Linked DNA regions of Homo sapiens: regions 1 and 2 are each linked to region 3. The links are contacts of gene promoters, found by promoter capture Hi-C in blood cells and fetal thymus (Javierre and others, 2016). All regions are on one chromosome and are shown on one strand. Each heading gives the region's core, a stretch centred on a gene start or on the middle of the fragment in contact. The rest is flanking DNA. Distances are from core to core; before and after follow the strand shown. Region 1 overlaps PRRC1 (proline rich coiled-coil 1). Region 2 overlaps LOC124901058 (a long non-coding RNA gene). Region 3 holds the start of SLC12A2 (solute carrier family 12 member 2).

Evidence for each region. Contacts are between HindIII fragments. The CHiCAGO score rates a contact against its expected background, and 5 or more counts as called.
Region 1: a contact is called between a fragment that was not itself captured here and the fragment with the promoter of SLC12A2 in region 3, in 2 of 17 cell types (non-activated CD4 T cells and total CD4 T cells). The highest score is 7.0, in non-activated CD4 T cells.
Region 2: a fragment that was not itself captured here is called in contact with the fragment with the promoter of SLC12A2 in region 3 in 6 of 17 cell types (naive CD8 T cells, total CD8 T cells, megakaryocytes and 3 more); the score reaches 8.1 in naive CD8 T cells.

The regions. Positions count from the first base shown.
Region 1 is chr5:127,531,742-127,535,359 of GRCh38, forward strand. PRRC1 (proline rich coiled-coil 1) reads left to right here. Exons shown (of 9, transcript NM_130809.5): 6 at 1,882-2,045. Among named protein-coding and RNA genes, the nearest start is that of PRRC1, 16 kb to the left of the region's middle. The HindIII fragment of the contact is 924 bases long and covers 1,448-2,371 here.
Region 2 is chr5:127,565,942-127,569,287 of GRCh38, forward strand. LOC124901058 (a long non-coding RNA gene) reads right to left here. Exons shown (of 2, transcript XR_007058924.1): 1 at 3,285-3,346. Among named protein-coding and RNA genes, the nearest start is that of PRRC1, 50 kb to the left of the region's middle. RefSeq lists a silencer at 1,379-1,438. The HindIII fragment of the contact is 792 bases long and covers 1,367-2,158 here.
Region 3 is chr5:128,082,076-128,085,675 of GRCh38, forward strand. SLC12A2 (solute carrier family 12 member 2) reads left to right here and starts at 1,691. Exons shown (of 27, transcript NM_001046.3): 1 at 1,691-2,635. The coding sequence starts at 1,880. It overlaps SLC12A2-DT (SLC12A2 divergent transcript), which reads right to left and starts at 1,100. Exons shown (of 4, transcript NR_152813.1): 1 at 895-1,100. RefSeq lists a silencer at 1,355-2,184 and an enhancer at 2,675-2,844. The HindIII fragment of the contact is 20,683 bases long and covers 1-3,600 here.

The DNA of each region.
Region 1 (3,618 bases), core at 660-3,159, 550 kb before region 3:
TCTTCTGAGTAGCTGGGACTACAGCCGTGTGCCACCACGCCCAGCTAATTTTTGGTAGAGACGGGGTTTCTCCATGTTGGCCAGGCTGGATAGCAGGCATTTTTCTACAAAGAAACAAGCTCAGTGACTTCCACAAGGTAAAGAAGCTAGTAAATGATAAAGGTAGAGCCATCAAGAAAAATGTGTAACACCGAAGGGGAAAAAAGAAAGGTACAGAAATGAAATTTCTATTATTAGCAAATGTCATAACTTTATCAGCTTTAAAAAGTAATAAAATCGAATTTAAGAAAGCTGACATCTTTACTGACAGCAAAGCATCACCATTCTGATCTAACAAAACAACTCAAAGTAAATCTTAAGGTTTTTTTTTTTGTTGTTTTTTTTTTGAGGTGGAGTCTCACTCTACCGCCAGGCTGGAGTGCAGTGGTGCAATCTCAGCTCACTGCAACCTCTGCCTCCTGAGTTCAAGCGATTCTCCTACCTCAGCCTCCTGAGTAGCTGGACCTACAGGTGCACGCCACCATGCCCAGCTAATTTTTGTATTTTTAGTAGAGATGGGGTTTCACCATGTTGGCCAGGATGATCTCGATCTCTTGACTTTTTGATCCTCCCGCCTAGGCCTCCCAAAGTGCTGGGATTACAGGCGTGAACCACCGCGCCCGGCCATCTTAAGGTATTTTTACACAAATATTCTAGAAATCATTTGATGTAACAATTTCGTATGTGTCAAGAAACTCAAAAAGTATTAGAAATGGCAGGACTACTCATCACAAGCTGAAAAGCCATTTTGAGCTGAAGCTTAATGGAGCAGTACTTAGCTAAGGTCGAGAGATGTGTCCCATGTGGAGGAAAAAAGTGAAAAAAAAAGTATATTCTTCTTCTCTTTTATGTCCTAGTAACTTCTGAAGTATCCAGTACAGATGTGATCTGTGAGACATTATGTCAGTCAGGAAAAAGGGATCCATTATTTTTAAAACCCAAATATTTGAAAATATCTTTCCCTGTTCCACATGATATTTATTAGGGAAAAACAACCTTGTTTCTAGGGCAAAATGTTTTACATTATAAACAATTTTCATGAAAAATCTCTTTTGCCGGTGATAACTATTAATGCCAAATATCAAAATGTGCTGTGTTTAGAACAAGGGCTTTGAATTCATTATATCACAGAAATGTTTGGTTAAGATTTTTAAAAATAATGAAACATTTGGTCAAATTGATCTGTCTAGAAATAGTAGTACTTAGGTTGTTTAAGTAATTGAAAAATTAAAAATATTTGAAAATATTTTTATTTCGTATTACTCTTAATATTTTAAATTTTAAGTTTTATGTGTTATTTCAATTTCATATATGCTTGCATATTTATATTAGGGCAGTAGTACATGTATAATTGATAAATATCTATTTGTGGTGTATGCTCAGAACATTGTGGGGATATTTAATAAAAAGCTTGATGACCCCATATTTAAACTATTTTCTAGGTTAAAAAGTATATTTCATGGTAGTGCTTGTTTAGTACATAACTTCTCTGCAACTCATTGACAAATCACTTACTATCAGTAAGTCTTTATTTTAATTTTCCGTGGAGTATACTAAATATGTAACTTACACTTCACAAGCCAGATATGTGATTTCTGGCTTGTGATATGTAATGTCAGTTTTGAGTCCTGACATTAGTGCTAAGTAGATACGTTACCTTGGGCAAAACTTTGTTGGCCTCAGTTTTCTCAAGCATATAAAAAAGATAATGATCTATATCTTGCATGGTTTTATGAAACTGGTAATAATTATGTATATTAGATGTTAGCACCTGGTATGGTAGTAATTATGAGAATTTCATTATTTTAATTTGAAAGTTAAATTTTCCTCTGGTCTTTTTAGAATCTGGAGGTGAACTGGATATTGTAGTGACCTCAAATAAAGAAGTAAAAGTTGCTGCTGTCCGAGATGCCTTCCAGGAGGTCTTTGGCTTAGCTGTGGTTGTAGGGGAAGCTGGACAGTCCAATATTGCCCCACAACCAGTGGGCTATGCAGCTGGATTAAAAGTGAGTAACAGAACACCATTTTCAGGACATGGAAACTGGCATTTAATTTTTTCACAATTCTGATAATCTGTTGTCTCTATGGAGCTAATAGACTTTTACATACTGAAATAACAATGAACTTTGCTTTTAGTAGACAGCCCTATCGTATTATGAAGATATAGTGGAGTTTTAATTTAAAGAAATTTAAGATAGGTTTTGATTATTGTGGGAGGGAAAGAAACATTGAGAGAGCACAAAAGGAATAGTTAGTCCTAAAAGAGATCTTCTTAATCCAGCATTAACATTCAAATCAATTACTGAGATGATAATATCCCTTGAATCCCATAAGCTTTTATTATCCCTATTGATAATGCTTAAAAATATGTAAGTTCCAGGAATTCCGTCCTCTCTTTCATACTTTATTTTCCTCTCTTTGTGTTATTACCAGCATACAGTCATGCAAGAACAAATTAACAGTTCATTGGCATACAAACATCTTTCTCACCTTGAAAAAAAAAGAAAAAACCAAAGGAAACCCCAACAAATTCTTTGACCTCCCTTCCTCTATAACTTAATGACCTATTTTGCTTCCTTTTGCAGCTAAACTCCAAGGAGTTGGCAGCACTTTTCTCATATCCTTTTCACATTCAGTTAAGTCTACCTCAGTTAGGCTTTGATGTCCAGCACTCTACTGATAGTGCTTTCAGGCTCGTGCTAATGTTCTCCATCTTATTGGACTTACCAGAGGCTTTTGAGACAGTTGATCATGCACTTCTCTTTAATGCTTTTTTCACTTGATTTCTAGGATTCCACACTTTAGTTTTTCCCTCCTTCATGTATTGCTCACTCCTTCTGTACTTCCTTTGCTGATTCCTCCTCTTCTCTCCAGTCTTCTGACGGTCACCTTCTCATCAATTCACTCTCAGACTATCCCATGGCTTTAAATACTGTCTCTGTGCTAACAGTTCCAAATTTATATCTCCACCTGAGACCTTCCTGTAGACTCTTGATTTATATATAAGTTGCCTTTTTGACAAGTTTACTTGAATATCTCAAACTTAATATGTCTAGAACTAAACTTCTTTCCTCCACACTTGCTCCCTCTAGCCTTCTTCACCTTAATTGATGGCAGTTCTAGCCTTCCGTTTTCTCAGGCAAGAAACCTTGGAGTCAGCCCTGACTTCTCTCATTACCCACTTCTAATCCATCAAGAAATCTTATTTGTAAGACAGACAGTTCTTGTTTTTCAACATAATTGTGTTCCATAAAGTTGCTACAGACTGAATTTGTGAATACTGAGCCATTGCTCCCAGGGGAGATACGATGGTTAGGATACTGTGGGCCTCTGGTCACATTTTGCCAACCTGTCAATACATAACTTTGTTTTATGCCTCTTTCTGTTTAAATACATTTTTATACACATACATGCACATATTTTTGATTCATTAATATTGAACTCTCACAGTCAACAGTACTGTAACTCATGCTTGAATGCAGCTTATTTAACACACTCGTTTTCTCATTAAGGCACATCATTGTCTTCTTGTGCTTAGGAACACTACAGCACTCCAGCACTACACTTGGGGGCCATTTG
Region 2 (3,346 bases), core at 513-3,012, 520 kb before region 3:
AGATCTGCTGCTTCCTTCTAGAATAGGAAAAAAAGCCTGATAAACTAATTCACTTGCATACCCTGGAAAAATTGTGACTGCCAAGACCAGCATCTCCCAGAGGATGTATGGCAGAACAATAACCCTCTGCTTCTATCCAAACAAAGGATCCCTTCATCAAACACATCTAGAAAATTTAGAGTGCATAGGAAAAGGCTCTGAGAAATCCTGGAATACAGAAGAAACTTTCTTAATAAAGGACAGCCCCTTTAATTTGCACTGTTGAGGCACAGAAAACAGCACCACAAAATACGGTAAGTTGGCATGCTGAATGCTTTGAAGGAAAGAAAATGGAAAGGTCTCAGAAATAAGCCTCAGAACCTTCCCCCTCACACCTGTTTCTCTTATCCTCTCTTTTCCCAAGCACCAGAAGGGACTCTGTCCCAAATTTCCTTATCTGGCTAAGGAAGCTTTTTTTTTCCAAAATAAATGCAATTGTCTTAAGACTCTGTTCTTAGGAATCTCATCAAATAACTAGGAAAGATTAACCACAGGAGAAGAGACTGGGAGTTGTCACCACACCCAGACAGACAAACTTTTCATCTATTCTTCTGAAGGCAGCTACTAAGATTACCAGGGAGGCTCTATCTGTATAAGACAAGCTTTGTTGATAATGAAGGTCCACCTTCCTGCCACCTCCCCCAGAGCCCAGAGCCCAGAGCCCAGAGGAACATGGTCTCAGACCATTTTTCTTTGGGCTCATTCATTTCCATGGAAAATCGGTTACTCCTTCATCACCATCTTCCCTTCCCCTATGAAGAAGGGTATGAAAGCCTCTGGGCCTCATTGGGTTATTGGGTAATCACTCTACTGTGATTTCCCCTGGACACTTCAAATACATTTTGTATGCCTTTTTCTTGTACTAATCTGCCTTTCATCCATTCATTTTCAGTAATCCCTCAGTGGGCAAAGAGGAAGATTTCTCTCTACCCTCACAGCATGAAACACCTGTGTTGTAGGTATTTGACTTTGAGCCCCATTTTCATCTGTAAAATTAGTTTATATATGTAAAAGCACTTAGAATAGTGTATGACAGTTAAATTCAGCATAAGCAGTAACCGTGGGACCCTAGTAAATCAATAAGTTAAAAGGAACCGGAAGGAGCCAGGCTGGTAGAACAGGGACTGGACCTAACCCAGGGATCTAACCCCATTTGCAACCCTTTTGTGTGAAAAACCACAACCAATATCTTGCAACTCCAGAAACAGAAGGCATATGGGTTGCAAAATGGCTAACAACAGCAAAGCATTTCCCTTGGGCACCTGGAGAGGAAAGGGCTGACAGTTAAAAATTACCCCAACATAGTCTTAGCATATAGCATAGCACAAGCTTACTTGCACACAGCCCTCTCCAGCACGACCTTACAAAACTTCCCTCCAGCCCCTGCATCTTTGCAGACAGCCCCTTCTCTGCTGTGCTGCTTGTTGCATCCTTGCAACATTATCTTCATGCTTCCTCTAATAAGTCTACCTTTCTTTACCTATGACTGTCTTGGTAAAGGAGCCCAAAGAAAAATGGCCTGAGACTGTGATAACCATGATCTTCTTGGCTCTAGGGGAGGTGGCGGGAAGGTGAACTTTCATTATGAACACCACCAGCCAGCTGTCACGTCCCCGACAGCAACTATTATTATTACTATCATCACCACCTGTAAACAAGGCACCACAGAGCCCTTGTGGGGCTGAATTCAAGGATGTGGGGTACGTGTGTGCAGATATTTATTGACAGAGCAACATTTCAGAGTCCCCTTGGCACATGTGAAAAGTGTGGCTTAGGGGAAAGATATGGATTTTTGATCAGATAGATATGGGCCATGCTCTAGCTCCACTGTTTACCATCAGTGCAACCTTAAAGAGTTATATAACCTCTCTATGCTTCCTTATCATAAAATGAGGATAAATAGTACCTTCCTTTTATTTTTTGTGAAGATTAAGGGGCAAATAACTCCACAGTTGTGGATTGTTATTACCATTAAAAAGCCAGTGGAGAACACCTGTTGAGCATGAGGGTGTAAAGCCTCCCAACCGAATGTTAATTTCCCCAACTGCATCTTAGAAGCTATTTTGGCAAAGAGTAAAACTCTTCACTTTAAAGTTTATTGGGCCAAAAGCATATTTGAAGCTTAATCTTCTCAATATGATTTAAAAAAGTGGAAGAAACTATGATAAAGCAACAGAGAAAGGGATTGACAGGTATGAAAAAACATATGGAGAAGAGTGAGTAAAATCTCTGGAAGAGAATGCAGACCTCTCCCTCCGTTTTGGATCAGTAAGTCTGTGTAGCCACATCAGATCTCATCCGTTGGAAGACCATAAGCTGCCCTTGGGCATGAGGCAATGAAGGGCAGGGGTGTCATCGTGGATGGGTATGACATAAGAGAAAGAGAAAGTGGAAGAAGAGGGGAAGGAGGAGGAGGAGGAGGAGAGAGAGACACAGGACAACCAATAAAACCTTGCATACACATCACAGAACCAAAAGAAAGAGTAGATATTTTGTGTGTGCATATTTGTGTGTTTTTATCTTAAAGACAAATTGTATGCTGTCTAGATCACACAGGTAGGGCAGCTGTCTAGATATTGAGTATGTTAAGGACTTGGACATCTTAAAACAATACACTTAATCAACTGCCTTTGCTACTTAAAAAAAAACAAATCTCAATTGAAAATGGATTGATTGGAAGCATGACAGAATATTTCAGATTAAGCCAATGGAAGGAATCCTATCGTTGCTGCACTGATAATAAAATAATACTTGGAAACCACTTACCACCAAAGTGGGTGCTCAATAGATGTTAGTTTCTCTTTGTTTCCCCTTGTTTCATAAAAAAAAGGAAAGAAAAAAAAAACCAAAGCTATACAGGAGGGAGAAAAAAATGAGGGAAAGGAAGAAAGTCAAAAGGAAAGAAGTTAAAAAAAAGAACGAAGAAAATTTCCCCCAAAAGACTTCAAGCCAACTAAGACACGAGAGAAGTTTGTCAATTTAAACATTGATGATATTTGTGGACATTGCAAGTTCTCCATACAACATCTTATGAGTGAGAAAAATCCCATAGTATAAGAGGCTTTTTTTGATTAGATGTAACAGCCAATTCACTACATAATACAAATTAGATATCTTAAAGAGATACTACCACCAATCAGATTTGACATTTTCTCTTATGCTTTTTTTGTATCTCTAAGGGTTGATTTTAAAGGAGAGAATAACACTTTTGACAATAGTTATGCAATGTACTTTTAAAAACTAACCTGTGAAATCGGGCTGCAATCAACTAGTTGACCTTGGTTGGACCATATTGAGAGGTGACAGC
Region 3 (3,600 bases), core at 441-2,940:
AAGGGCCGGGCGCGGTGGCTCATGCCTGTAATCCCAGCACTTGGAGAGGCGGAGGTGGGCGGATCACGAGGTCAGGAGATCGAGACCATCCTGGCTAACACGGTGAAACCCCGACTCTACTAAAAATACAAAAAATTAGCAGGGCGTGATGGCGGGCGCCTGTAGTCCCAACTACTCAGGAGGCTGAGGCAGGAGGAGAATGGCGTGAACCCAGGAGGCGGAGTTTGCAGTGAGCCAAGATCGCACCCCTGCACTACAGCTTGGGCGACAGAGCGAGACTCCGTCTCAAAAAAAAAAAAAAAAAGTACATAAATAAAAACCAAGTAATTGGAGGACGCCATTCATTGATTTTACTTAGGACTTTGGGCATAATCTATAGGTTTAAAAATTTCTGCTGCTAAGAAAGTGGGAACACAGTTATATTCCCTTACATTTTACCGAAGAGAAACTAGACCTGCAGAGGAGTACCTTTCTGTTTCTATATAAGCAGAGGAATTCTGCACAACCCAAATCACGCAGAAACCTCCTGGTAAGGACTCCACGGGTAGTTATTGCCGGCATTGTATTCTGAGAGATGAGCTGCATATCACTTTTGGAAATGCCTTAAATTAAAACTCGTCTTGAAACAACATGACGTCTCAAAGAAGCTCCCTTCTCACCTTGGAACATCAGCTTTTAAAATAAAGGTGTCATCAGAAGTGTGTAGACACCCACTGCATCACAACTGGAACTGATCTCTGGTTATGCCAATCTAGGTCTGCCTGGCAGGGTGAGTCTACCGCTCGAAAGCTGCACAGAGGAAATCCTCCCTCCTCCAGGTTCAGGCCCGGAGTTACGAGCGGAGATTCGCGGCGGCGGGTCAGAGCCCAGAGCAAACCAGGCTGGGGAACGCACCTCGCCCGCGGCTCCGGAAGCGGCTGCGGCCCCGACCGGAAAGCCCCCAGCATCGCCCGAAGGAATCGCGGCTGGCCTGCGGCTCCGGCCCGGCCTCGGGTACCACGCGCCTAGTGGGAAGCCGCACTGACGCCTGCAGCATCTCGCGAGATTTCGGGCTCAGCCCAAGTACTGCGAGTTCACCAAAGCGGGGGGAAAAAAAAAAAGCCAGCGTGCGAGAGCCTCTGAAGCCGTGGCTGGGGCGCTGGGGTGGCAGCTGCCGCGGGAGCATCAGCTACCGGCGTGAGGCGAGGCAGGGCACGCGCGCCGTCCGCAGCCCCGTTGCCTGGGCTGCAGGTCCACTGACGCGCGGCCCCTGGGTGGAGAGAGGGGAGGTGGCCTGGGAGCCCGCTCCTTTTCGCCGCAGAGCGCGGCGGGGGAGGGAGGTGAAGGCGTGGGAGGAAGGCGGCGGAAGAGGAGGTAGCCGCGCGGAGATCCTCCCGGCGACATCACTGAGGCGGAGCGTAGCCGCGCCTGCTCCCCGATCGCGCCGTTCGTGCTGCCCGCACTGCCCGAGGCCCTTTGCGGACTGGCTGGCCGCGCTCTTCGCACGGGGCGCTTTTGCGTGGGGTCGCGCAGGAGCCGCGGAGGGCCGGATCGCTGAGGGAGCGTCAGCCGCGCGCCGCTGCGGGACCGCGGGTGGGCGGGCTGAGGGGCGGAGGAGCCTCCGGCCCCGCCTCCCGCGTGCTGCTGCCGGAGCCGCCGCCGCCGCAGCCCCGCCGAGGCTTTAAACAGCGGGGCCCGCCCCGCGCCCGCCACACTCGCGCGCTCGCTCGGCTGCCGGTGGCCTCTGTGGCCGTCCAGGCTAGCGGCGGCCCGCAGGCGGCGGGGAGAAAGACTCTCTCACCTGGTCTTGCGGCTGTGGCCACCGCCGGCCAGGGGTGTGGAGGGCGTGCTGCCGGAGACGTCCGCCGGGCTCTGCAGTTCCGCCGGGGGTCGGGCAGCTATGGAGCCGCGGCCCACGGCGCCCTCCTCCGGCGCCCCGGGACTGGCCGGGGTCGGGGAGACGCCGTCAGCCGCTGCGCTGGCCGCAGCCAGGGTGGAACTGCCCGGCACGGCTGTGCCCTCGGTGCCGGAGGATGCTGCGCCCGCGAGCCGGGACGGCGGCGGGGTCCGCGATGAGGGCCCCGCGGCGGCCGGGGACGGGCTGGGCAGACCCTTGGGGCCCACCCCGAGCCAGAGCCGTTTCCAGGTGGACCTGGTTTCCGAGAACGCCGGGCGGGCCGCTGCTGCGGCGGCGGCGGCGGCGGCGGCAGCGGCGGCGGCTGGTGCTGGGGCGGGGGCCAAGCAGACCCCCGCGGACGGGGAAGCCAGCGGCGAGAGCGAGCCGGCTAAAGGCAGCGAGGAAGCCAAGGGCCGCTTCCGCGTGAACTTCGTGGACCCAGCTGCCTCCTCGTCGGCTGAAGACAGCCTGTCAGATGCTGCCGGGGTCGGAGTCGACGGGCCCAACGTGAGCTTCCAGAACGGCGGGGACACGGTGCTGAGCGAGGGCAGCAGCCTGCACTCCGGCGGCGGCGGCGGCAGTGGGCACCACCAGCACTACTATTATGATACCCACACCAACACCTACTACCTGCGCACCTTCGGCCACAACACCATGGACGCTGTGCCCAGGATCGATCACTACCGGCACACAGCCGCGCAGCTGGGCGAGAAGCTGCTCCGGCCTAGCCTGGCGGAGCTCCACGACGAGCTGGAAAAGGTGAGCTCGCCCAGCCCTCCCTTCTTCCCCAGCCCCTGGTGCATGCCGACCGCGGGATGTGGCTGCAGACTCTTCCCGAGTTGAGGTGGCGGGAGTAGTAGACGTGCACGACTTGCTGGCATCTCTGGATTCAGCTGTCAAGGGTGGAATTGCCGAGGAATGTTAACTTAATCTCTCAAAAGTTTGTAGCGGGTTTGGCTAGTTACGTGATACCGGAGGGCTGCCTCTAACAACCTTCCCCATCCAGTTAGGTATCTCGTGTGCACTTTCTTTCCCACCCACGCTCAACAGTCACCATCCCTCTGAATGACAGTAGTGTTTGTGGGCCCTTTAGAGGAGAATGTGCAGTGAGGATCTCTCGAGAGAGGTTGGAGAGCACCTACCATCTGTGTCGTTTTGAAAGATTGTGTTGTGTGGCTTATGTACGCCTATTAGGGATCGCAAGAGTGGGAATGTTGCTGTTTGAAGGAAAACCTTAACAGGGTGTGTTTATGGTCTATGAGTTATTAAAGCTCAATTCTTGCAATCTTGAATATACAAAGGATCATAGAGATCTTGTCTTGGGACACGCTGTTCCTAATAATGGCATAACTCTTTTTTTTTGCGATGAAAACGTTTTGGGAGAGGTGTATATTTAAAAAAAAAGGGACAGAGGCGAGTCTTTAAAGAAAAAAGGGAAACAGGAGAATTGGTTTTTCTGTAGAGGATGACCAGAAAGACCTGTGGGGTCTTTGCCATAAGCAGTTACACTTTGTAAACAGAAAACCATCCCCATAAACTCATTGATTTTTGTAACTATTTTTTATGGTCACATAAGACTTATTTCTTCAGCGTTCAATGTCACTGTTTTGAGATAACATTGATGCTTTTGAGATTTCGTTAATGTTTAACTTTTTTATGAGCCGGGATTACTTGAAGTCTTCCTTTACAAGTGTGTAATGACTACATTGATGGAATTTGTGAAC